Linked DNA regions of Homo sapiens: region 2 is linked to region 1. The links are contacts of gene promoters, found by promoter capture Hi-C in blood cells and fetal thymus (Javierre and others, 2016). All regions are on one chromosome and are shown on one strand. Each heading gives the region's core, a stretch centred on a gene start or on the middle of the fragment in contact. The rest is flanking DNA. Distances are from core to core; before and after follow the strand shown.

What was found. Contacts are between HindIII fragments. The CHiCAGO score rates a contact against its expected background, and 5 or more counts as called.
Region 2: a fragment that was not itself captured here is called in contact with the fragment with the promoter of HEXA in region 1 in 12 of 17 cell types (M1 macrophages, M2 macrophages, M0 macrophages and 9 more); the score reaches 10.1 in M1 macrophages.

What each region holds. Positions count from the first base shown.
Region 1 is chr15:72,372,847-72,379,463 of GRCh38, forward strand. HEXA (hexosaminidase subunit alpha) reads right to left here and starts at 3,168. Exons shown (of 14, transcript NM_000520.6): 1 at 2,874-3,168. The coding sequence starts at 3,126. HEXA-AS1 (HEXA antisense RNA 1) reads left to right here and starts at 3,267. Exons shown (of 1, transcript NR_027262.1): 1 at 3,267-5,942. It also overlaps the pseudogene RPL12P35. RefSeq lists enhancers at 2,404-2,959, 2,960-3,516, 3,408-3,547, 3,878-3,927. The HindIII fragment of the contact is 8,315 bases long and covers 1,227-6,617 here.
Region 2 is chr15:72,583,932-72,590,548 of GRCh38, forward strand. ARIH1 (ariadne RBR E3 ubiquitin protein ligase 1) reads left to right here. Exons shown (of 14, transcript NM_005744.5): 14 at 1-6,617. MIR630 (microRNA 630) reads left to right here and starts at 3,286; the gene lies at 3,286-3,382. The HindIII fragment of the contact is 957 bases long and covers 1,847-2,803 here.

The DNA.
Region 1 (6,617 bases), core at 1,918-4,417:
GGGCTGGTCAGGTGGCTCATTCCACCCTGTAATCCCAGGACTTTGGTAGGCCAAAGCAGGGGGATCACTTGAGCTCAGGAATTGGAGACCAGCTTGGGCAACATGGCGAAACCCCATCTACAGAAAATACAAAAATTAGCCAGGTGTGGTGGCATGCTCCTGTGGTCCCAGCTACTCAGGAGGCTGAGGTGGGAGAATTGCTTGAGACCGGGAGGCAGAGGTTGCAGTGAGCCAAGATTGTGCCACTGAACTCCAGCCTAGGTGACTAAGCAAGATTCTGTCTCAAAAAAACAAAAACAAACAAACAAACAAAACCTACTGGCCCAGAGCCTACAAATAAGTTGTTTGGAGGAAGAGGATGGAAATCTGTTAGTTAAGATTTAACCTGCATATGTTGCCTTCTTTACTAAAATCAGACTCATAAAGAAATGTATTCTGGCTTCAGCCTTGTTGGTATTGCTCTACCTCTATTTGTTTCCCATGCTATTGCTTCATCCTTGTTTCTGCAGAACTAGGATTTTAGCTCAAAGTCACCTAAAAGCCTCCACAGGAAACTACATTCCAAAGGGAAGACTCCATGGGAAGAGCAATAGAGAAAGAAGTTACTTTTAAGTCTTTGGTAATGTTCACCCAACCCAGTTTTCATTTTCTCTCAATGGACAAGAACCCTCAACTAATAAAGCTAATGAACTTACAGGAAGGTAATATATGGAAATAAACATCTTATTGAATTTATCTGGCTCTAAATCTCTTTTGTTAGGGAATTTATAGTATTCCATTATCTTACAATCTCTCCATTTCTATCTACTTGATTAAACTATGGTGCTATAGCAATGGAGGTGAAGGCCTAATTTAGAAGTATAGGAATTAGGTATGGCGCGGTGGCTCATGCCTGTAATCTCAGCACTTTGGGAGGCTGAGGTGGGTGGATCACTTGAGGCCAGGAGTTTGAGACCAGCCTGGCCAACATGGTGAAACCCCATCTCTACTAAAAATACAAAAATTAGCTGGGCGTGGTGGCAAGCACGTGTAGTCCCACCTACTCGGGAGGCTGAGGCAGGAGAATCGCTTGAACCCAGGAGGCGGAGGCTGCAGTGAGCCAAGATCGTATCACTGCACTCAGCCTCAGTGTAGGCTGAGTGATAAAGCGAGACTCCGTCTCAAAAAAAAAAAAAAAAAGGAAAGGAATTATTCTCATGTATACAATAGTAGGAAACAACCTATAAAGCTTTTGAGAATCTTATAATTCACTGTGTACCTCCCTCTGTTTCATATTTTCGCAATTGAACTATAGAGCCTAGGCCTAGGTCTTAAGACTTTTCTTGTAACCTTCAGAGTGCCCAGCACTGGGATTGACATATACCAGTTAGACGGATTTTTTTTTCCATAAACCAGGCTCAAACTCTTCTAAACCAAAATCAACATATTCTGAGTGCCAATCTTGGGTAAGGCACTCTATTATTTGTCATGAAGGATTCAGAGGAAAATGTGATCTACCACACTCAACAGCAGGCCTCTTATCCTCTCCAGCTTAATGCATTTTACCAGTTAAGGACTACCCTGATGCTGAGATTGTGTTTCTTTCCCCAAATCAAATGTCACTCTCTAAGGGTCATCTGTATAATTAAATGCTTTTAATTCTATATATCAAATGATAACTTTTGTGAAAGTAATTTAAACACACTTGAAACATCATATAAAATATTACTACAAGACTTAACCGTAAATGTGGCTCCCACCCCCATAACATCTATACAATATAACCAAAGAGCTAGATTCCAGATTATCAAGAAACTTCTAAATTTTGAACCCATGCAGCAGAATTGTATTCCTTTACATTGTTGGCTCGACTTACAAATGTGCTGTGGAATAATTATCCTCAAATACAATTTTCAGTACTGATTACATAGCTGCCTAAAAGAAAACTGTTAGCCCCTTCCATTTTATGTGAAACCAATGTCTAAAGCGCTCTTGACTCTTCAACCCCACATTTTCCCCACCCTCATCCCTCCTCAATCCCCAGCCCCCACTCATCACATCCACTAGACCTGAACTTTGAACTCAATCATAATTCTTTGTGCCTCTGCTCAAGCCCTTCTTCCTGCCTGGAATACCCTCTTTTCAGTCCCGGCTAATTACATCTACCATCCCATTCCAAGTGGCCGCTGGAAACTCACTTCCTTATGTTCTATGATTTCTTTCACAATTTACACTTTTTTTGTTTTGTTTTGTTTTGTTTGGGGGGGGGGGTTGTTTTTCTGAGAGGGAGTCTTGCTCTGTTGCCCAGGCTGGAGTGCAGTGGCGCGATCTCAGCTCACCACAACCTCCACCTCATGGGTTCAACCGATTCTCCTGCCTCAGCATCCCGAGTAGCTGGGACTACAGGCGCGCGCCGCCACGCCTGGCTAATTTTTTGTGTTTTTGGTAGAGACGGGGTTTCACTATGTTGGCCGGGCTGGTCTCGAACTCCTGACCTCGTGATCCGCCCGCCAAACATTCTATGTGCCAGAAACTTGTATGTAACTTTGCATAGTTCTTGTATTATGTCTCCCCAATTTTGAGTGTTTTCTCTGGTCTCTACTCAGCCCTTGCTCACAGTCTCACTAGGACCCTGGCTAGCTTGAACACGGTCAGAAGGATCACCTTAGATTTCTGCTGGCACAGTATTTTCCATAAATTAATCTCCTGATTGAACCGTAGTCCTATAGTAGTTATCTTTGGATGAAAACCTAATGCAGCTCGAGGAGGAAGTGGAGTGCCTGTGATCAGAGGGCTGGACAAAAGCCCATAGGGCGTCTCTGGAGCCCTGGGGGAACTGTCCCCAGGCAGGCACTCTCAGGGCCCAGGAACAGGGCGGGACAAGTCCGACTCACCTGTGAGGTAAGGACGGGGCCAAGACCCGGAACCGAAAAGCAGGTCACGATAGCGCTGGAAGGCCTCGTCGAGGACTGAGCAGCCGGGCTGCGCGGCCGAGCTGACATCGTACTGGAATTGAAAGTTGTTCGGGTAAAGGACGTAGCGCTGGTCGGAGGTTTGGAAGTTCTGAGGCCAGGGCCAGAGGGCCGTCGCCCGTCCTGCGAACGCTGCCGCCAGCAGCAGCGAAAACCAAAGCCTGGAGCTTGTCATGGCCCGCTGGTCTCCCCTCTCGGAGGGGGCTGGCCACGTGAGACCCTGGTCAGGTGAGCGGCGCCCCCGTGACTTATCGGCGAATCACGTGACCAGAGGCGGCTCTGCGCCTGCGACCCCAGGAGGACCCACACCCTGCCCTTTCACTTCCGGCCTGGACCTGAGGCTCCTGCTACGTGCAGCGGATTGTGCCGGGCGTCGGCAACTGCTCGGCTCGCCAGACTGTTCACGGGCCCAGTAGAGCAGTAAATAACCGGCCACCCCTGCGGCCGTGCCGGCCGTGATGGAACTAGACAGCTCACCCGACTCGAGAAGAACGGGGTGGGGAGGCGAGGACGCAGGGCGACCTGGAGAAGAAAGTTTCCCAGATGGCTCTAGGGTGAATCTTGAATGTTGTGATGCAGCTCGCCAGGCCTACGGGGAGGTAAAGGACTTGCCAGGCTGAAGTAACTTCAGAAGCAGAAAAACGGAGGATTAAAACCACAAGTCGTTGTGATGTGAAATTTCGTGGGGCAAGAAAGGGCCGGAAGTAGGTAGTCTGCACGGCTCTGCTAGAGAGAGGATCACAAGATCACACAAATGTGATCTACTTATGACTGGAAAAAATGTGTACTTTCAGAGCCAGCTTGAGGCATTCCATTGCCTCCAATATGAGCTCTTCCCTTCAAGATTGACTATAAATCTCTTAGTTACAACTCACATCCCCTTTCCCCAGACAAAACCCCACATAGCCCGGTGTGTATTTACTGAAAGCAGTAAGATATTGCTGGGGCTTTGGGTGCAAGATGGAGAGTGCTCAGAGATAATGACAGGGGCCTGGTCCTGCAGGGCCTTACGTAGAAAGTCAAGGAATTTATTCTCTGAGCAATTGAAAATCATCCCGAAAGATCTGCATTTTAGAAATACCATGTTGAGTAGTTGCATAAGAAACCAGTTAGGAGGCCCCTTTTTATTGGAGGTAGAGAATAATGAGAGACTGAACTACAGAAGTGGGGAAGGAAGACAGCTGTAGATCCAAGAAATAGTATCCGGAAGAGAGGCTTGAGAAGTGATCAAGGAGAATTCCACAGTTATCAGAGACCCTGTCTTCCTTGTTCACCACTATATTACCAGAACATAATACAAATAATGCTATTGTTATTGGGTGGCATTATTTGGTTAGTAGGTACTTTTTAAAATTTTTAAATTTAATTTTAGTATTAAAATACATGTAAAGATCAGGAAAATGAACTTTTAAAAATAAAGGGCTTTCACTGGGCATGATAACACATCCCTGTAGTCCCAGCTACTCCCAGCTATTCAGGAGGCTGAGGCGGCAGGATCACTTGAACCAAGGAGTTCAAGTTTAGCCTGGGCAGTATAGTGAAACCCTTTCTCAAAAACAAATAAAGGGCTACTGAAATAATGATAATTTATATTCAGGTCGTAGGTACCTAATTACTAGTTACACATACATGGCTTTGATGGGAAATCAAAGAAACATTCTGACAATACAGAGATTCATCAAGCAATTTGTCTTTGAAAGTTGATTATTCAAAAACAGAGCTTGTAGCAAAAGAAGCAGAAATTAGATCCCACAGTCATCAAGTTTCAGATCCTAAGGCTTGCATTCTTACACCAATTTCTTCTTTGCTTAAATCTTAATTTTCATCAGCATTAATTAAGTGTCTGGGTACTCTGCCAGTCAGGAGAGATGTTACCAAAGGTACAGGATTTGAGAAGTATTGTCAGAAGAGCCAAGTTCATAATCAGGCCCACAGGATCAATAATTTGGGGGAGTGTTTAGAGCAGTTTCAAAGATGAGAGCAGTAGATCAAAGTAGAATTTCAGGACTGAGCACATGCCAAGGCACCCTTTTATGGATATTCAACCTGTACCAGAAGGGAGGAGTCATTTACTTAAAAGAGTTACACAAGATGAAAGAGCTAGATCCAAATAAAGACGCTATAAAAATTACTAATGGGGCTGAGCATGGTGGATTACAGGGATTCAGTTATTTAATTATTACTGAAAGAGCTCTTTTAGACTTAACCAGATTTTTAAACCAAATATTCTTATGCATACATAAAAGTAAGTTACACAAGATAAATTTGTTGATCTTCCAAAATATCCCCCCTTACTATACACTAGAGTGGGGTTTTGGCATAATGGCAGACAAATAGATGGAACGGAATAGAGGGTCCAGGAAAAGAGCCATTTGATTATTACTCCATTTCAATGAAGACACCAATTTAATTTAGTGGGGAAGGCAAGTTATTTTCAATAAAAGGTGATGAAGAAAATAGATATCCCTATGTGGGAAAAATGAACTATGATCCCCTACCTCACAGCATACACAAACTTAATTAAAAATGGATCACAGGCTGGGGATGGTGGCTCACACCTGCAATTCCAGCACTGTGGAAGGCCAAGATGGGAGGATCACTTGAGCCCAGGAGTTCAAGATCAGCATGGGTAATACGAGGAAATCCCATCTCTCTTTATTTTTTTCTTTTTTGAGATGGGGGTGGTTAATGGGTACAAAAAAAGTAGCCTGAATAAGACATACTATTCGAGAGCACAATAGGGTGACTATAGTCAATAATAATTGTATATTTTAAAAGAGTGTAACTGGATTGTTTATAACTCAAAGGATAAATGATTGAGGGTATGGATAACCCCATTCTCCATGATGTGCTTATTTCACATTGGATGCCTATATCAAAACATCTCAGGTACCCCATAAATATATACACCTACTATATACCAAAAAAACTTAAAATTAAAATTAGACTGGGTATGGTAGCTCATGCCTTAATCCCAGCACTTTGGGAGGCTGAGGCGGGTGAATCACTTCAGGTCAGGAGTTTGAGATCAGCCTGGCCAACACGGTGAAACCCCATCTCTACTAAAAATACAAAAATTAGTGTGGTGGCAGGCACCTGTAATCCCAGCTACTTGGGAGGCTGAGGCAGGAGGGTCACTTGAACCTGGGAGGCAGAGGTTGCAGTGAGCCAAGATCACGCTACTGCACTTCAGCCTGGGTGGAGGTTCTGTCTCAAAAAAAATTAAATTTAAATTTAAAAATGAATAAACAGTTTTTAACAATATGAATTATTTAAATTAGTATATATACAACATTGCCATCAATTTGGACAGTAGATGAATATAAAAAATAATAACATACTGTATATAATATTTGATGGTTTTTCTTTTTTTTCTAGTTGTCAAATGATCCTTTATTGAAATATTTTCCTTTGTGCTTAACTAGCTGGGCATTCCACAGCACCACTGTTGATGTCATCTATGATGTCATGAGGGTGCTGGCCATCAACATTACAGCCCACAGACTGGGCAGTCCCCAGGATCTCTTTAATGGTTCCAGAGAGTTCTCTGGCTAAGGATCAGTGCCGCATCTGTTGAGCAATGTTGACGATCTCATCAAAAGTGATATTCCCACTGTGTTTAATGTTTTTCTGTTTCTTTCTCTCTCGGTGGTTCTTTGAGGGCTT
Region 2 (6,617 bases), core at 1,075-3,574, 210 kb after region 1:
GACAAAGCAAGCGTGGCACGTGTTTGCATAATGTTTAATTACAAAAAAATATTTATTCTTTAAAAATCTTCAAGATTATGTCTATTTGCTGTGCATTTTCTTTCAGTTTGCTTATCTTTCCCGGGTTGGGGTTGGGATAAAGGTGTGTCGGTTTAGCACCTCTGGAAGACCTATCTAGAGCTCTTTCACTTTCCTGAGGTTATTTTGCCCTTTCTGGTGTTGGTATGTCTGTTGCCGGCCATGGGCCTCATGCCTTGAATTCCTGCTCTTGATCAGGGACAAGGGAGGTCAAGCTCTGACTAATGCCATGACCTGATTAAGGGGTACAGCAGGGAGTTTTGTTGCTACAGCTCATGAATTAACCTGTCCCAACCTAATCCCCCTCCATGGCATCATGCCTCTACCCAAGCCTTTGTGTGCCCATGTTATGCACACAGCTGTAGGCATTCTTAAGTCCCCTGTCGCATCCAGTGGAAGCATTTTAAAATTTCTTTTACTTTTTGGTTTTCCCTTAATTGCTGCTTTTCAGATTTTAGTTATGGCTCGTCTGCTCACCCCTTCTCTACATTAGGGTGTCAAAGAGAATGTTTTGCTTTAAATATAAATAGCCATTCATTTAGTCTCAGATTGTGAATTTAAAATGGTGGATACCGAAATTGCTTGTGTGTGTTGCTGTGGGTTTGGTTTGAAGGCAAACACCCCTAGAACATGATATTCCCATCTAGTGCATTTAAATAGAAATCACTGAGTTTGCTGCTTTTTTATTGTCAGCAGATAGGAGAATTAATAATGCATTTTAGCTGTGATGTCCATTTTTATGAAATTCCTACTAAGAGCTATGTTAAAAGTAAAGGATGGTGGTGGTTGTATTAACTATATACCTGTTTAGGCCATTCTGGCTGTGGTATTTTTCAATAGGTCAGCATCTGTAAATCTGTCAGTTTTATACAGGAGTGCAGAGTGAACTAGGCAACTAGATTAAGAGGTCTAAATATGAAATACCAGTTGAGGCTGAGGACCTCTTCGTCTTCCTTTAAATGTCTTTTGCCTAGGGAGTGTTTACCATTTGTGAGGCAGCTTTGTCTGCTCTTACACTGTACATCCTATTACTCCATTGGGAAGTAGGTTCACTTTCCTCTGGCCTTTTGCCTAAGTTAGGCTTTGCTGAATCAACCCTACTTTTCCTTTTAGAAAAGGTTGTTACAGGAGATTTACTGGCAACTGTTCTTTTCCCATCAAAAATCAGTGAATGTTTGCTGAGTATAAATGCTGCTTCCTTAAACCACTTGTCGCTTTAGGATCAACTTTACCTGTACCTTTTCTCCTTTCCTCCCTTGCCACCTCAGGTGCAAATCTGAACTCAGTGTCTGCTTCTTCCATTTTCTCGTCTCTCTCCCCTCTTCCCCCATTATCCATATGACATTATTTTACTTCAAATGACAGCATCAATCTTAAAAAGATATACATTAAAACTAAGGAGTTTTTTTAAAGAAAGCCTGAATAAGTTCCTTTCCCTGGTAACTTTGAAAAGCAGTCAGAGTTGCTATATAGATATATGTGGCTCCTTTAAAATGCTTTGTGTATGTGTGGTGTTTAAAAAAAAAAAATCTTACCAGTTAACTTTGCAGTGTCTAGGTTTGAGTGTCATAAATCCACGTGTTCCTGTTGCAACAAATACCCAAAAATTGTGTGTGCACTTCCTAATACCAGTCTTCACCCATGGAGGAACAGTGCTTTTTAGAGATGCTTTCTATTTCAATGTTGGCATACTGCCTGAGGGTATTGCAGTTGTGGGTGCATTCCCTAATTTGTATGATCAAGATGAACTGGCCCTTTTCTACTTCCAAGCTTTTAACAGATACCACCATATTTGACAGAATTCCCAGAGTGAATTGCTTGTGTTATTAGTAGATTCAGTGCCCCCAGCTGGGATAGGCAAGCCATGACAGCTTCCCTGTTTCACCTACAGAAGTCTTATCTGAGGGATCTATTCACAGTAAGCACCAAGGTCTCCATGTCTTGAGGTCAGTTTCATTGTCTTTTGAAAAGTGCATGCTTCATTTGAACAATTCATTCAGCAGCAGATGGACTTTCAGTGATTTAAAATAAAATTTTGATCCAAAGCTCAGGACACAAACCACAGTGGTAAAATTGAGTAGCATATAATATCAGACTAAATTATCTGTAATTTTCCACAACCCAGATTGTATGTGTTTTATGTGTGTTTAAATAAATATGTTAGATACACGTGTATACATACACCCATATACAACAGATCCAAGACTGGCTGACTTCATTTGAAATGGTTGAATCTGCTGTGTAATAAAGTGGTTCAACCATGATTAGGAACTGAAATTTAGTAGAAGAGGGAAAAGGAGTTAATGTAACAAATTATTTTAGCTACAAACCCCGGTAATAGAGCACTTGGGGGATGGGATGGGGTGGGTTGGTGAGACAATCAGAATGGTAAATTGATTAAATGCTCCTAACCCTGTAATTTTGTGCATAGAGCACCCTATGCTGTGGAAATAACTGTTCTTAGATTTCATTGTAACTGGACTGTTCAGGTTGCCCAGAGGGAAAGAACATTCCTAATTCTAATAAAATAAACTTTTATTTTGTTATTCCATTAGTTACTTATGTTTATTTTTATAGTTAAAAAATGACTAAAGGTGGCTAATAGCCACCCGTATTATGTGCCTTATTCACTGTTCCCACTTAATATAAAATGTCAAAAATTGGTTGTTTCTTTGCAGGGAACTGTGAATGAGCCCATTCCCCCAACATTTAACTTGGTTAATGAAGCTTTCAGAGCATTTTCTGAAAGATTTCCAATTTCTGCATCTCAGATATTGAATTTAAATTGTTTGTGTTGTAACAGTGATACAAAAATGTTCAATAGCTCTTTGAATGCCACTTTTTTTAAAGAAAATACTTTAAAAGTCATTCTTAGCTAACCTCAAAACTCCTTTACATTACTTTCATTTTAGCTCACTCTTAAAGCTGATACTGTTATATAGGGATGAAGGGAGAGTTTTCTTAAAGAAGGTCCCAAAGTTGAAGATCGTTTGTCATTGATACTCTGGCCAAGTCCAGGTTTTAGGACAATTTAATTTACTCTTATTTGGATCTGTAATTATGGGAGTTTATCACTTTTCCTCTTCAAAGCACTTCAACTTACTGTCTAAAACAAGTGGAGAAGAAATTGCCATTTTTTATAAAGGAGGAAGATAAGGCTCACTGAGGTTAAATAACTCCCTCAATTTTTCATTTCCTTCTACCTGAAACTTAACATCATGCTACCTCTTTGTATCATATTTTGTTATTCTGGTCACAGAATGACCTAGTATTCTGTACCAGGGAAGGTAGTTCTTAACTATATTGTACTTTTAAACCACATTAAAGACTATTATAAATGCCTATCACTGCTACTGTTAGAGGTTGCTCTATACTATCTCTGATCTTTCATTTGTTGCAGTTTGCAACACAGTAGTTGAGAATAAGTGGTTTAGTATGATTTGCTTAATAGTACCCAAGTAATTTGCAGTTGTTGGTTTAGTTATTCAAATGAATTTCCATTGTAAAGAATTTTGGATAGTCTGCAGGAAATTGTTACAGGATGCACAGAACATCCCATATCCATTGGATCTCAGCCTTTGAGGCTTTAAAAAGATGATAAGCAGTGAGTTTTATGAGAAAATTTTGGCTCCTTCAGAAACAGGAAGATAAGTGGGCCCCTCAGATTTTTCATATATCTTTGGGGATAAAGTTGGTTATATCTGGTTTATTTTAGGGATTTTGCTTCTGTAGTTACCCAAGATCAAATAGCCAACTCAGAAATACTCAGTTGGATATCAATCAAATAGTGCCTACCAGGGGAGTAAACAGACAACTTTTAGGTTTTTAGTTTTTGCTTTTGTGTGGAGTTGAGTCCAATTTTTAAGGCAACTATTGTTGACCTTTCTCTAGGCGGTAGCATTTAGGATGGGAAAAAATAATATGAGTTATGTGCGAAAAGCAGTTTTCAGGCTATCATTTAGGGCCACAGATATGCTTATTTAGGACTATTTTCAGGGTAGGAGCCAGTTAAAGTTTGTATATCAGTCACACATTGATATGTAGCAGCTCTATCAATACCACAACAACCTTATTACCATAGTAATTCAGGGGTCTCAAGTAATCCAGGAGTCTCAAACTGAAATGTCAACAAGAGCCAAGTAAATATTTTAGAAATAGAGTACCCTGGAGTAGATGGGCTCTGAGAGGAGCCTGTGAAATCCAGACTTCATGTGAATTCTCTTAATTAAATGTGGGCCAAAGAAAACCCGGCCATGGGCAGTTTTTTTTTCCCAGCTTCTACTAGTCTTGGCTTGCAACAATGCCACTGTCCATCTGGCATTACCTAGACCAGTGATACTTAAACTTGACTGCGAATTGGAATCACTGAGAAGCTTTAAAAAATATTAGTGCCTGAGTGTTACTTTATGGAGATTATGATTTAATTGCTTTGGGTAGGCATCAGTAATTTTTGTAAAGCCCTTTACGCATTCTCACCCCTAATTCCAGCCGGTGATTCTCACATGCAGACTAGGTTGAGATCCTTGATCTAGACTGCCTTCTATAGTTGCAAAAAGAGAATATAGGCGAGCAACTCCAGATCATAAGGGACAAAATGATTCAAGGCAAATTGACTGGCTCAGAATAGGGCCTCACTGGAGGCCCTAGTTGAGTGGGTTTTGTGGAATGGTGCCTCCCAAGGGTCTGGTGTGCAGTGCCCAATTTGGTTTTTTGTTGGTTTTCTGGTAAGTGGTCCACCTTGGAGAAAATCACAAAACTAAAAGTCTTACCAAGAAGTAGAACTGACAAGCAGCCATGTTGATTGGCAGTACATTCTCTTACCAAGGGGGAGAAATCTATCTAGGGAAAATAATACAGAGTCTGAGCAAAGGAAGTTGAGTGGTTATAAGCAAAACTGTCATTAAAGCTAGTTGCGTCAAGTCTGCACAATTCCACGAGCACTTAAGAGTTTACAAGTTTCTCATGTCTATCATTCTTTTGATAATCTTGTATTTTTATTTCAAGTGTGGTATAGTAGTAAGAATATTGGTATTTCTCAGCCATAGATTTCCCTTTTGTAAAATGGGAATACTAATAGGAACTGTAATTTGTTGAGTGCTTTTTGCCAGATGCCTTACTTTTGTCTGTATCTTCCAAGCAGCCCTAAAGCAAAATGGGCATTGTTACCCTATTTTTATGAGGAAAGACACTCATATACTACTAACTTACTCAAAAGTTACACATTGAGTGTATAACAGGGCCATGCTTGTCTGATTCCATATGTTCATTCTATTATGCTGCTGTTGTCTGTTACATAGGAATATTGTGAGGATCAAAGAACATGTGAAAACAAAACCTAGTTACAATAATAAGCACACCAGTGCTAACTTGGGCAAAAGATAAGGATACAGAGCTGTCTCAGAGACTCCCAAAGGCAGGATGAGATTGGGAACTAGAAAACCATTTTGGACCCCTAAAGTGGTATTGTCTACTATCTGTACATCATTCTCTTACAGCTCTTACTGCTGCTTTTCCTGTCAGTTACCCCATAGCTCCAGGTATTACATGTTAACTGTTCCTGACACATGTAGACAGAACCAATCAGATCCATGGGGCAGGATCATCAATACAAACATGGGTGTTGAGAGCTTAACTTAATCGGGAAGGAGATCTTGGAGATCATAGTTCGCTGGGTTCACATCATGGAAATCGTCTTTGACAAAACTGAAATGCCCTGAAGTTTTAATTTTTTAAATACATGTAATGAATTGGTATATGGTAGATACTCGTGGCTACTTAGTATTTACCAAATGCTTTGTTTCCATCTCGTTTATTTTTATTTTTTATTTTTTTAAGAGACAGTCTTGCTATGTTGCCCAGGCTGGACTTGAACTCCTAGTCTCAGCCAACCCCTTCTGCCTCAGCCTCCTGAGTAGCTGGGATCATAGGCATGTGCCACTGCTCCTAGCTCTTCCATCTCAGTCTTATGATGTAGTTACTATTTTCATTTTATAAATAAGAAAATAGAAGCTCAAATAAAATGGGTAGTTTCCTTGAGGTCATCCTGTTAGTAAGTGGTGGAATGAAGTTACAAACCTAGGTTTTATTGGTCAGCACACACAGTGCCGGGCACTGGCAGTACAGCAGTGAACAAAAGGTCTGTTGGTTTGTCTGAAGCTCTCAACCTTGATTCTGCATAGACTCGGTGGATTGCCCAAGGCCACTCAACCAGTTAATATCAGAGCCAGCTCTGCTGTTTGACCAGTATATTATTTTCACCATGCTGTATCTGCTTCTCAGTCACCAAAAGCACCAGCTAAAATTGTATATAGACTGATTAGGGGACTTCCAACCTAAGATTGTCCTGGAAACTTAATTCTTATCTTGGCTCATCTCTTCAAAACAGATGCCTCTTTCGTTGGTGACCTCAGATACACTGTTCAGAAGTACTCAAAGTATTCCTTTTTTCTCACATTTGAGAGTCACTCTAGCATTTTAATGAGTTAAGCAAGCCAGCCCTGCATTTCCAAACCCTTCCCAGAAGTCTAACCTTACTTTGA